Regions from separate parts of the Homo sapiens genome. Here region 1 is linked to region 2. The links are contacts of gene promoters, found by promoter capture Hi-C in blood cells and fetal thymus (Javierre and others, 2016). All regions are on one chromosome and are shown on one strand. Each heading gives the region's core, a stretch centred on a gene start or on the middle of the fragment in contact. The rest is flanking DNA. Distances are from core to core; before and after follow the strand shown.

Region 1 (5,355 bases), core at 1,232-3,731, 190 kb before region 2:
GGCTAATGTGGCACCGTTCCCAGTCCCTCTCTATCCCACGCCCTTCTCACCTGTTTTGTTTTGTTTTGTTTTGTTTTGTTTTTCCAAAGCACTTGCCACTAGCTGGAATTGTCTTAGGTATTAACTGGTTTTGTGTGTGTATTCATTTCCTGGGACTACAGTTAACAACCACAGGCCAGGTGCGGTAGCTCATGCCTGTGATCTCAGCACTTTGGGAGGCCAAGACAGGCGGATCAGTTGAGACCAGGAGTTCAAAACCAGCCTGGCCAACCCAGTGGAACCACGTCTCTATTGAAAATACAAAAATTAGCCAGGTGTGGTGGCAGGTGCCTGTAATCCCAGCTACTCCAGAGCCTGAGGCAGGAGAATCACTTGAACTCAGAAGGTGGAAGTCACACTGAGCCAAGATCACACCATTGCACTCCAGCCTGGGTGACAGAGTGAGACTCTGTCTCAAAAATAAATAAATAAATAAAAAATTTAAAAAAAGAACAAATAACCACAAACCAGGTAGGTTAAGACAACTGAAATGTATTCTCACAGTGCTGGAGGCTAAAAGTCTGAAATCAAGGTGCTGGCAAGGCCATGCTCTCTCTGAAAGCCCTAAGGGAGGACACTTCCTCGCTTCTCCCCAGCTTTTATGACTGCAAGCCTCCTTGGCCTTCTTTGGCTTGTGGATGCATCACTCCCATCTTCGCCTCTGTGGTCACGTGGTGTTCTCCTCTGTCTGTTTCCCTCTTTAAGGGCACCAGTCATTGGAGTAGCCCACTCTAATCCAGTATTACCTCACCCTGACCTGACTACATCTGCCTAAACCCTGTTTCCAAATAAGGTCACAATCACAGGTCCCAGGGTTAGAGCTGGGATGTATCTTTTTGGCAGACACAATTCTCCCACAACAGTGTGTTTTCTCTGTATCTTCTAAGAAACCAGGGCTCTGTTGGTTCTTGTCATGGAATGCATTCTTTATGGAGCCATATTTAACTTAAAGACAGCACATTTTATCAAAGTTTCTACCCCAGGCCAGATCTGGGCCTGGGAAGAGGAGACGCTGCTGGGAGTCTCAGGGCAGGAGAAGCCTGCTGTCTGAAGCAGAAACAAGGAAGCAGGTTCCCCCATAAAAGTGGCTCCCACACATCTCCAGGACTCTGGGGTCCAGCTCACAGAGAGCTCTGGGAAACACGTGTTGATCTGATAGATGAGGAAGGGGGAAGGCAAAGTGCAGCAGGTCCAGTGAGACCCGAGGGACCAACTCAGGCAGGGGGCTGGGGAGAATTCACCGAGGAGCTGAGCACTCAGGGAATGGCACATATGCACTTAGGCCAACCAGAGGGAGCCAGGCACTGAGCTGTCTCTGCAGGGAACAGAAAAGTGGTTGGAGAGGATGCTGCCTGAGTGGGGCCACATAAGGCCAGGACAGCTCAGAGTCTGAACTTCGTCCAGATTGCCGGGAAGAGCCATTAGGAGATTTAAAACATGAATGTGGTGATGTCACGTGTGCATCTAACTGATCTTTTCAGTTTTAGTTTTTAATTAGGTAGTACATTCAACTGGTTTAAGATTCAACAGGTATAACAGGGTATGGCCCAAAGTGTCCCTTTTCCCCAGCCCCCAGCTACCCAGTTCCTCTCCCACCGACAATCACTATTACAAGTCTCTTCTAGACAGTCAATGCAGATACAAGCAAATTTCCTTGCTTTTTAAACATACCGGATTCCATAATTTAAACATTGTTCTGCACCCTGCTTTTTAAAAATATCAAGGTATAATTTACATGCAGTGAAATGCACCTGTGTAATCAACACCCCAATCATGATACAGAACATTTCCAGCATCCCAAGAAATTCTTTTATGCTCCTTCCCAGTCCATCCCTCCACCCCAGAGGCAGCCACTGCTCTGCTTTCTGTCATCATAGATTGGTCTGTTTTGCCTCTTCTAGAATTTCATATAAACGGCATCATTACAACATGCTATTTTTTGTATCCAGCTTGTTTTCATTCAGCATGTTTTGAGATTCATCCATGTGGTTGCAGACATTGGATCACTCATTTAAACTCCAGTGTAATATTTGACTCACCAGTTTATCCATTCATTGGCTGTTCGATCTTGGGTCACTTCCAATTGTTGTCTATCACATGTTAAACTCTGTTGAACATTTGCATAGAAGTCCTTGTGGAGCTATATATACATATATATTTTTATTTTGAGCAAAAACCTAGAGGTGAACTTGCTGGGTCATAGGAGAGATGTATGTTTAACTCTATAAGAAACTGCCAAACTGTTTTCCAAAGTGAAACATCTTAAATACCATTTCATATCACTGCATTGAGAGTTTCCTCATGTGTGTTTGTGGCCATCATTCTCCATTGTATAAATGTCCCATAATTTGTTTAACCAGTCCCCTATTACAGGACACTTAGGTTGTTTCCAGTCTTTTGCTGTCACAATGCTGCAGTGAATAACCTTGTAAACGTGTCAAATGTCACATGGGTTAAGCAAACCTATAGGACACACTGCTAGACATGGAACTCCTGAGCATGCATAGACTGATGGTCATTTCCCAATATCCAGACTGCGCTTTTTCTGATACTTTTTTTTTTGAGACAGAGTTCTGCTCTGTCACCCAGGCTGGAGTGCAGTGGCGTGATCTCAGCTCACTGCAACCTGTGCCTCCCAAATTCAAGCAATTTTCCTGCCTCAGCCTCCTGAGCAGCTGGGACTACAGGCACATGCCACCACACCCGGCTAATTTTTGTATTTTTAGTAGAGACGGGGTTTTTCCATGTTACCCAGGCTGGTCTCGAACTCCTGACCTCAGGTGATCCACTAGCCTCGGCCTCCCAAAGTGCTGGGATTACAGGTATGAGCCACCACGCCTGGCCATGGACTGAACTTTTTCTTTGAAATAAGAGCCTCAATTTTCATCTGGACACATGGTGCCTAGAACACAGATCATATTTCTCAGCCTCCTTTGTAGCTTAGTGTAGTGATGTGATCAAGTTTAGCCAATGGAACATCAACAAGAAGATTGTATGTGACTTCCGAAAGAGTCTTTAAGGGAACCTCCCTCCCTCCTTGGCTCCTTTCTCCTTTCTAATGACTAAAAGACTCTCCATCTGGGGGCTGGGCGCGGTGGCTCACACCTGTAACCCCAGCACTTTGGGAGGCCGAGGTGGGTGGATCACAAGGTCAGGAGATCGAGACCATCCTGGCTAACACAGTGAAACCCCATCTCTACTAAAAATACAAAAAATTAGCCAGGTGTGGTGGCACGTGCCTGTGGTCCCAGCTACTCAGGAGGCTGAGCAGGGGAATCACTTGAACCTGGGAGGCAGAGATTCCAGTGAGCGAAGATCAGGCCACTGCACTCCAGGCTGGGTGACAGAGGGAGACTCCATCTCAAAAAAAAAAAAAGACTCTCCATCTGGGGATGCAGATGTGAGGGCTGCTGTTTGAGCAGCCATGTTGGGCCATGAAGTGGAAACCATGTACTGAGGGGGTAGCATAATAAGACAAAAGGAGTTTAGGTTCCTGAACCGTAGAGCACCATGCCAGTTTTAGACTGCCTGCTTTAGACTTTATTTACATGACAGAAAAATGCCTCTATTGGCTGAGTGTGGTGGCTCACACCTGTAATCCTAGCACTTTGGGAGGCCAAGGCGGGTGGATCACCTGAGGTCAGGAGTTCAAGACCAGCCTGGCTAACATGGTGAAACCCCATGTCTACTAAAAATACAAAAATTAGCTGGAGGCTGAGGCAGAAGAATCGCTTGAACCCAAGAGGTGGAGGTTGCAGTGAGCCAAGATCACACCATTGCACTCCAGCCTGGGTGACAAAGGGAGACTCTGTCTCAGAAAAGAAGAAGAAGAAGAGGAGGAGGAGGAGGAGCAGGAGGAGGAGGAGGAGGAAAAGAAAAATGCCTCTAACACCAGGACTTTTTTTTTATTTTCTTTTTTTTTTTAGAAGGAGCCTCGCTCTGTCACCTAGGCTGGAGTGCAGTGGTGTGATCTCAGCCCGCTGCAGCCTCTGCCTCCTGGGTTCAAGCGATTCTCCTCGTGCTTCAGCCTCCTGAGTAGCTGGTGTACACCACCACGCCCAGCAAAGTTTTGTATTTTAGTAGAGACAGGGTTTCACCATATTGGCCAGCCTGGTCTCGAACTCCTGATCTCAAGTGATCCGCTTGCCTCAGGCTCCCAAAGTGCTGGGATTACAGGCTTGAGCCACCACACCCGGCCTAACCCATGATTATTATGCGGTTTCTGTCATGTGCAACCAGCAGGTTACAGATCCTGTGCATTTGTGATTTTGAAAAGTAGTGCCACCGAGCTTTGCTTTTAAAAAGGTCATTTTGGAGGATGGGTGCAGGCAGATTGAAGGGCAAAATAAGGGATACAGGGAGACCAGTGAGACAACTGGACAGGAGTCAAGGGCGAATGATGCCTAAACCCTTACAAGGGTGAGGGCAGCCAAATCCTCTCCAAATCTAAAGGGGAGAAGGATAAACTGGAAATGATGAAACGACCTGACAACCCACCCTCAGCCCACGCTTGCAGGTGGCCCTGTGCCATCTGGCCCTGGCCCACTTACCTACCTCACTGATCACCTCCCTTCCCCTCGCACAGTAAGTACAGGTTACTCTCCCCAGAGTGCACCTTACTTGCCCGTACTGCAACCCCTTTGCAATAGCTGAAACCTCTACCTGCAACGCCCTCATCTCCCTGGACCCCCACCCCTTCACCTGGTCATCTTAGGCCAGACTTCCTCCAGAGAGCCATCTGGGACTCTTCCTCTCCCGAAGGGCCTCCCCGGGCCCTCATCCCCTGTGCGGCCCTTACTCTATCACGTGCAGGGAGGGCTGCATTCTGACGGTCTGCTTCCAAGTCCATCTGCAGCGCGAGGCTGAGCGCCCTTTCCTGGTGAGGTTGGCCACTCAGAGGGGCCCAGCTCCCGACAGGGCATTTAAAGGTACGGCCCGCTTGCCCTGTTCTCAGCACTTCACCCTCAGCTCGTACCGTAGAGCCACCCGCTGTAAGGTTGAGAAAAAGGTGAACGAGCGAGTGAGCGAGGAATGGATGAGGCCCCACCAGGGGGCGACGGCGCCTCGCCACGAAGCCCGGGGCGGAGCAGGAGACGGAGAAGCCGCTTCCCCAGCGCCCCCTCCTCTGAGTCTCGGCGCCGCGCTCCGCAGCCCCACCGGGGAATCGCCTCGCCCCGCCCGCCGCCTCCGCGCCTCAGATAATTGACTCGAACCGATGAAGCGCTGATCGCGGCGCCTTTGTGCGCGCCGCCTCGGCACTGCCATGGAAAGCGGGGTCCCCTCCCCCGCCTCCGCAGCTGGCCCGGAGTCGGCCCG
Region 2 (4,774 bases), core at 1,101-3,600:
ACATGAGGCTGGCGTAGTAGACGGCAGGAGTTGGGTTTCAATTATGTCCTGCATGAGTATGAGGGTTGTATATGTGTGCCCAGGTGAGCCCTCTGAATGAAGTCATGGATAGAGGCCAGAACTAGGAAGAAGAATGAAGAACTAATGCTGTGAGAGAGGCTGAGATTGGAAAGGCATGAAGGCTAAGCAATGGGAAATATCCTCACTACACTCAGATGAAAACCCAGCTTCCTTATCATGACCTGAATGCCCTGCCCACCTCTCCCACCATATTTCTTCCTCTTCTTCCCTTTATTTGCAGTGCTTCAGCCACCATGGCCTCCTTCTTCAAACTTGTGATGCTCTTTCCTGCCTTGGGACGTTTGCACTTACTGTTTCCTTCTCAAAGGGACCTTCTGAACCACTCAAGCTAAAGCTCTATACTTCACAGCTACTTATCTTTTCCTTTCGTAGCACTTATTGCTACCTGAAATTACTTTGTTTATGCATTTGTTTACCTGTGCATTACTTGCTTCTCACTTTAGAAGGTAAGCTCCACCAGTGAGCAACTGGTGTATGTCTTCCTCATAACACATCCCCAGTACCTAGCACAGTGTCTGGCTCATAGCAAATGATGAATTGTTGTGAGTTAAACAAATGTGAATACAGTTGGGAAAAACAAAGCCACAAGAGCCAAAAAGATACGTTCGAGAGGTAGGTAGAAGGGTATCATTTCCTGGAAGATGGCTTCCCAGAAACTTTGGGATTATCTTGTATAACCTCCTCAGTCCACAAGTGGGGAAATTGAGGCCCAGTTACAGGACACTGAGAGAAAAACTGTTGTGGGTTCCCAGGCAATTGGGATCAGATGTCACAAGCTGTCTAGCAGATGAGGTCCAGAGAAGGCCACAGCCACCTCCCTGAGGCCATCACTATAAGTCTGCAGCCACCACCAGCCCTAACCCCACATGGGGAAGAGGTGCCTCTTTGGGAGCAGAGGTGCTAGTCAGCTGACAAACTGTGAAGGCAGGGCTGTGGAGGGTGGAGAGGCCCATTCCTGAGACAACCAGCTATTCTGAGACAGTTAGGGATAATGGTTGGTACTGAAAGAACCTGGCCTCCTCACCCTCGTTCCAGTGCTCACACCTCTGTCCCACCAGAGGTGAGACTAATACTTGAACTCCTTTCAGCAACTCTTAGACGCTTCAGCTTTTATCAGGGCCTGCAAAGGAGAGGTTGATCATCAGATGGAGCCCTGTCCACTGGGGGCTCCCAGTCTGATGGAGGAGACAGACTGAGGTCCTCAGGTTACTGACTGATAGTGTCTGGGTTGGAGGGAGTTAAACAGAGAGGAGACCCCTAGAGGAAAGGATCCCTGAATTAGTTCAATCGGCATACAGAAATTATCCAGTCCATGAGGTGACAGTAAGAGAAGTAACTGCCAGTGTAAAGGGAGGGAGGCAACACAGCTAAGTTCCAGGAATTGTTTGCAGTCTTGTGGGTGGAATCTTCCGGAATTTGAGAAGAGAGTGGCAGAATAGGAGGCTGGAAAGGAGGGTTTGGCCAAATTATGGAGGACTCTGAATGTCAAGTGAAGAGTTTGGGCTATCTTTGGTGCATAAAGAGGTCCATGGGAGATTTTTGACCATAGGGAGACCATGATGAGCTCTGCATGGTAGAAAGTGCTTTGTGGCTGTTTTGGGGAGGTAGCTCGGGCAAGGAGAGCAGGGGTGGGAGGCAGATAGAAGGAAAAAAAAACACTGTATTTTGGACGCACAGCTCTTGGCAGGACTCCTGTAGGAGGAAGGAATTGGGCCTTGGTCTCTTGAGAGCTAGTATCCTCACTTCTCAGACTCCTGCGCCATGCCCTTCCTAGGGTCCAACTTTCATTCACTTCTTCCGAACTCCAAGTTTGAATAGAAAGTGTTGCTGAAACCCTAATTTAAAACGAGGGGTCAGAGCAAAAGAGACTTCAGCTCCCAGAATGCTTGGCTCTACAGCTCTGCAGGTCGCGCATGGTTCTTTTCAAGAAAGGGGGGCCAGCTGGGTGAAGTGTGGGAAACCTGGGTACCGCCATCTTAACTTGGGTCAAACCAACTGTTCACCTAATGGGAGGTTCGTGTTCTCTCTGTTGTCACTTGTTAACACTATTGAAATAAAATGCGCTTAACTATTGCAAGTCTCCTTATTCTGCTTTGCGTTGGGGATTCCTTCCATTTTGCACCCTAGGCCAGAACTGAATCCCTAAGGTTACAATAGGACATCCCAGCATGGCCGCATTCAGAGAGATTCCTCTGGGGGCGGAGTCGGAAGCTGTCTCGCCCCGCCTCCTGGTAGGAGGGGGTTTCCGCTTCCGGCAGCAGCGGCTGCAGCCTCGCTCTGGTCCCTGCGGCTGGCGGCCGAGCCGTGTGTCTCCTCCTCCATCGCCGCCATATTGTCTGTGTGAGCAGAGGGGAGAGCGGCCGCCGCCGCTGCCGCTTCCACCACAGGTACCTAGGGAGCAGCCAGGCGAGGTCGTTGGCGGGTGGGGTGGGCCCAGGATAGGGCAGCGGAGCGCGGCCGACCCTCACGCTTCCAGCAGACTCCTGAGCGGCCCGTCGCCTTCCCCTGCCCCCACCTTCACACATAAACCAAGCGAGGCCCCTGCAGCCCATCGGGGAGGCCCAGGGGCCACCCCTCAGGGCGGAGGGCGAGGTTTGGGGGCAGAGGCCGATGTGAGGGTGGGAACCGGCTGCCGGAGTCCAGCTTATTGCAGAGGAGAGGACTGAACTGGGTGGGGACTAGGGGACAACTTGGAGGAGGGGGTCGTCAGAGGGGGAAGGGAACTTGAGGGGTGGGGCCGCAGGGGGGTGCTGGGGGAGGGTGCGGAGGGAGTGGTGCCTGCTGGGTAGTGTGCAGTGAACCCTCCCGCGAAACTGGGCAGCTGGAGTAGGGGCCTTCTTAGGGTCCCTCTGGGCGGGGCTGAGCTTCCCACCTGCAGAGTGGGTGCGAGGTGGAGAGAACCCCAGGCGGGGTTGCTGGGGCGAAAGGGGGAAGGGACCAAGACGTGGGGCAGAACGTCTGGAGTTGGAGTTAAGGACTAGTTAGGAGCCTGGATAGAAAAAGAGGTATGGAGAGAAAGCTTGGCTAAGGGTATACATATGTTGGTGACCTTTTGAAAGAGTAGGACTTTTCAATTTTGTTTTTCGTTGTGTGTTTTTTGCAGTGTTGGAACATTGCTAGATTAAGCAGGTGATGGGTGGAGCTTCTGTAGTTTGTTTTGGGGAAGCAGAGTCAGGGTCAGGAGAAGTTGCATCTTGGCTATTGCTTTGTGTGGAGGAAAGAGTTTTGAAAAGAAGGTGGCAAATTATTTGGGAAGACTTGATTACTTTTCAGCTGTTTAATTCTACGAGAATGGGACATGGGGAGAGGAAATGAAAACTAAGAAGAGAGGCCGGGCGTGTGGCTCACGCCTGTAATCCCAGCACTCTGGGAGGCCGAGGCGGGTGGATCACGAGGTCAGGAGTTCGAGACCAGCCTGACCAACACGGTGAAACCCCGTCTGTACTAAAAATGCAAATATCAGCCGGGCTTGGTGGCGCGCGCCTGTAATCCCAGCTACTCGGGAGGCTAAGGCAGGAGAATCGCTTGAACCTGGGAGGCGGAGGTGGCAGTGAGCTGAGATCCGCCACTGCACTCCAGCCTGGGCGACAGAGCGAGACTCCGCCTCAAAAAGAAAAAAGAAAACTAAGAAGGGAAGATTTTTCCAAGAATTGGAGACTTCATTCCATCTGAGGAGTGCAGTGTAGGCCCAGTGGTTAAAAACCAGACTGCCTAGGTTCTCAAATATCAGGGCCATTGCTACTTAGCTGTGTGACCTAAACTCTCTAAGCCTCAGTTTTCCCGTCTGTAAAAGGGGGATGATGGTATTTTCTAGCTTGTGAGTTTACGGAGAAGAGTAAATAAGACAATTTGTGTCAAGTGCTTACTACAGTGTCTGGCAGGTAGTAAGTGTAGTAAGTAGCTTTTACCTGTCACTGTAAAGGGACTAGCTGGTATATTTGGGGCTCTTCTGTTCTAAGTAAAATTTATAGTCAAGAATTTGACTGTAGACAGGGCTTTAGAGTAGTATCTTTGTAGTTGTTGTAGGGTTTTGTTGTAAGTCATTTGGCTTTACTGGCTTGGTGGACCTGGGGCTGAAAGTCCAGTACCAATACTAGTTCTCCTCCGTGGTATTCTCAAAAGTTCACCTGCAGTCTTAGCAGGGCATGTTTTTGTCCTTCTGTGACTTTGAAATACTTGGCTTTGGTTTGCTATTGCGGGAGGGTGTATGACTTGAAGAAAGAATGCAAGATTGGAAATTTGCTTAGATTGATTAATCAACTGATTATACAGTTAGGTCCCCGTGAGGTGACTTTTCTTTAAAAATAAAAAAAAGCCTAGTTATGTACTCCTTTGTGGAATACAGAGAAGAGAAATACACATTTAAGGAGGAGCATGGGTTAGTTTCTAAGTAGTTATGGGTGAAGTGCCTTGCAATTTGAGGATGAAACAGGTGGCAACTCCTTTTCCATACTGCGCGTCCTTTTCCTACTCACTCATCCAGAGTGAGTCCTTGTTTTTACTATTGTCTCTATCTCTGAACATACATCTTTGTGTCACATAAGTAAAGACATATGTATGTATGTATATATACTTTACTTCACATAAGTAAAATATATACATCTTTACTTCACACTCTGTTAAAGAAAGGGATGATTTTCTTTAGGAAGTGAGTTTAAACCCTTCCATAGGACTTGGATTTGTAGTAGGCAGA

What was found. The method cuts DNA at HindIII sites, captures the fragments that hold promoters and counts their contacts. A CHiCAGO score of 5 or more calls a contact.
Region 1: a contact is called between a fragment that was not itself captured here and the fragment with the promoter of CSNK2A1 in region 2, in 5 of 17 cell types (M2 macrophages, megakaryocytes, erythroblasts and 2 more). The highest score is 11.4, in M2 macrophages.

Annotation. Positions count from the first base shown.
Region 1 is chr20:728,301-733,655 of GRCh38, reverse strand. No RefSeq gene overlaps it. Among named protein-coding and RNA genes, the nearest start is that of SLC52A3, 38 kb to the left of the region's middle. The HindIII fragment of the contact is 8,874 bases long and covers 1-5,355 here.
Region 2 is chr20:541,366-546,139 of GRCh38, reverse strand. It overlaps CSNK2A1 (casein kinase 2 alpha 1), which reads left to right and starts at 2,350. Exons shown (of 14, transcript NM_177559.3): 1 at 2,350-2,468. RefSeq lists enhancers at 1,885-1,944, 2,055-2,104, 2,215-2,294, 2,315-2,464, 1,950-2,643 and 1 more and a silencer at 2,785-2,844. The HindIII fragment of the contact is 12,556 bases long and covers 1-3,102 here.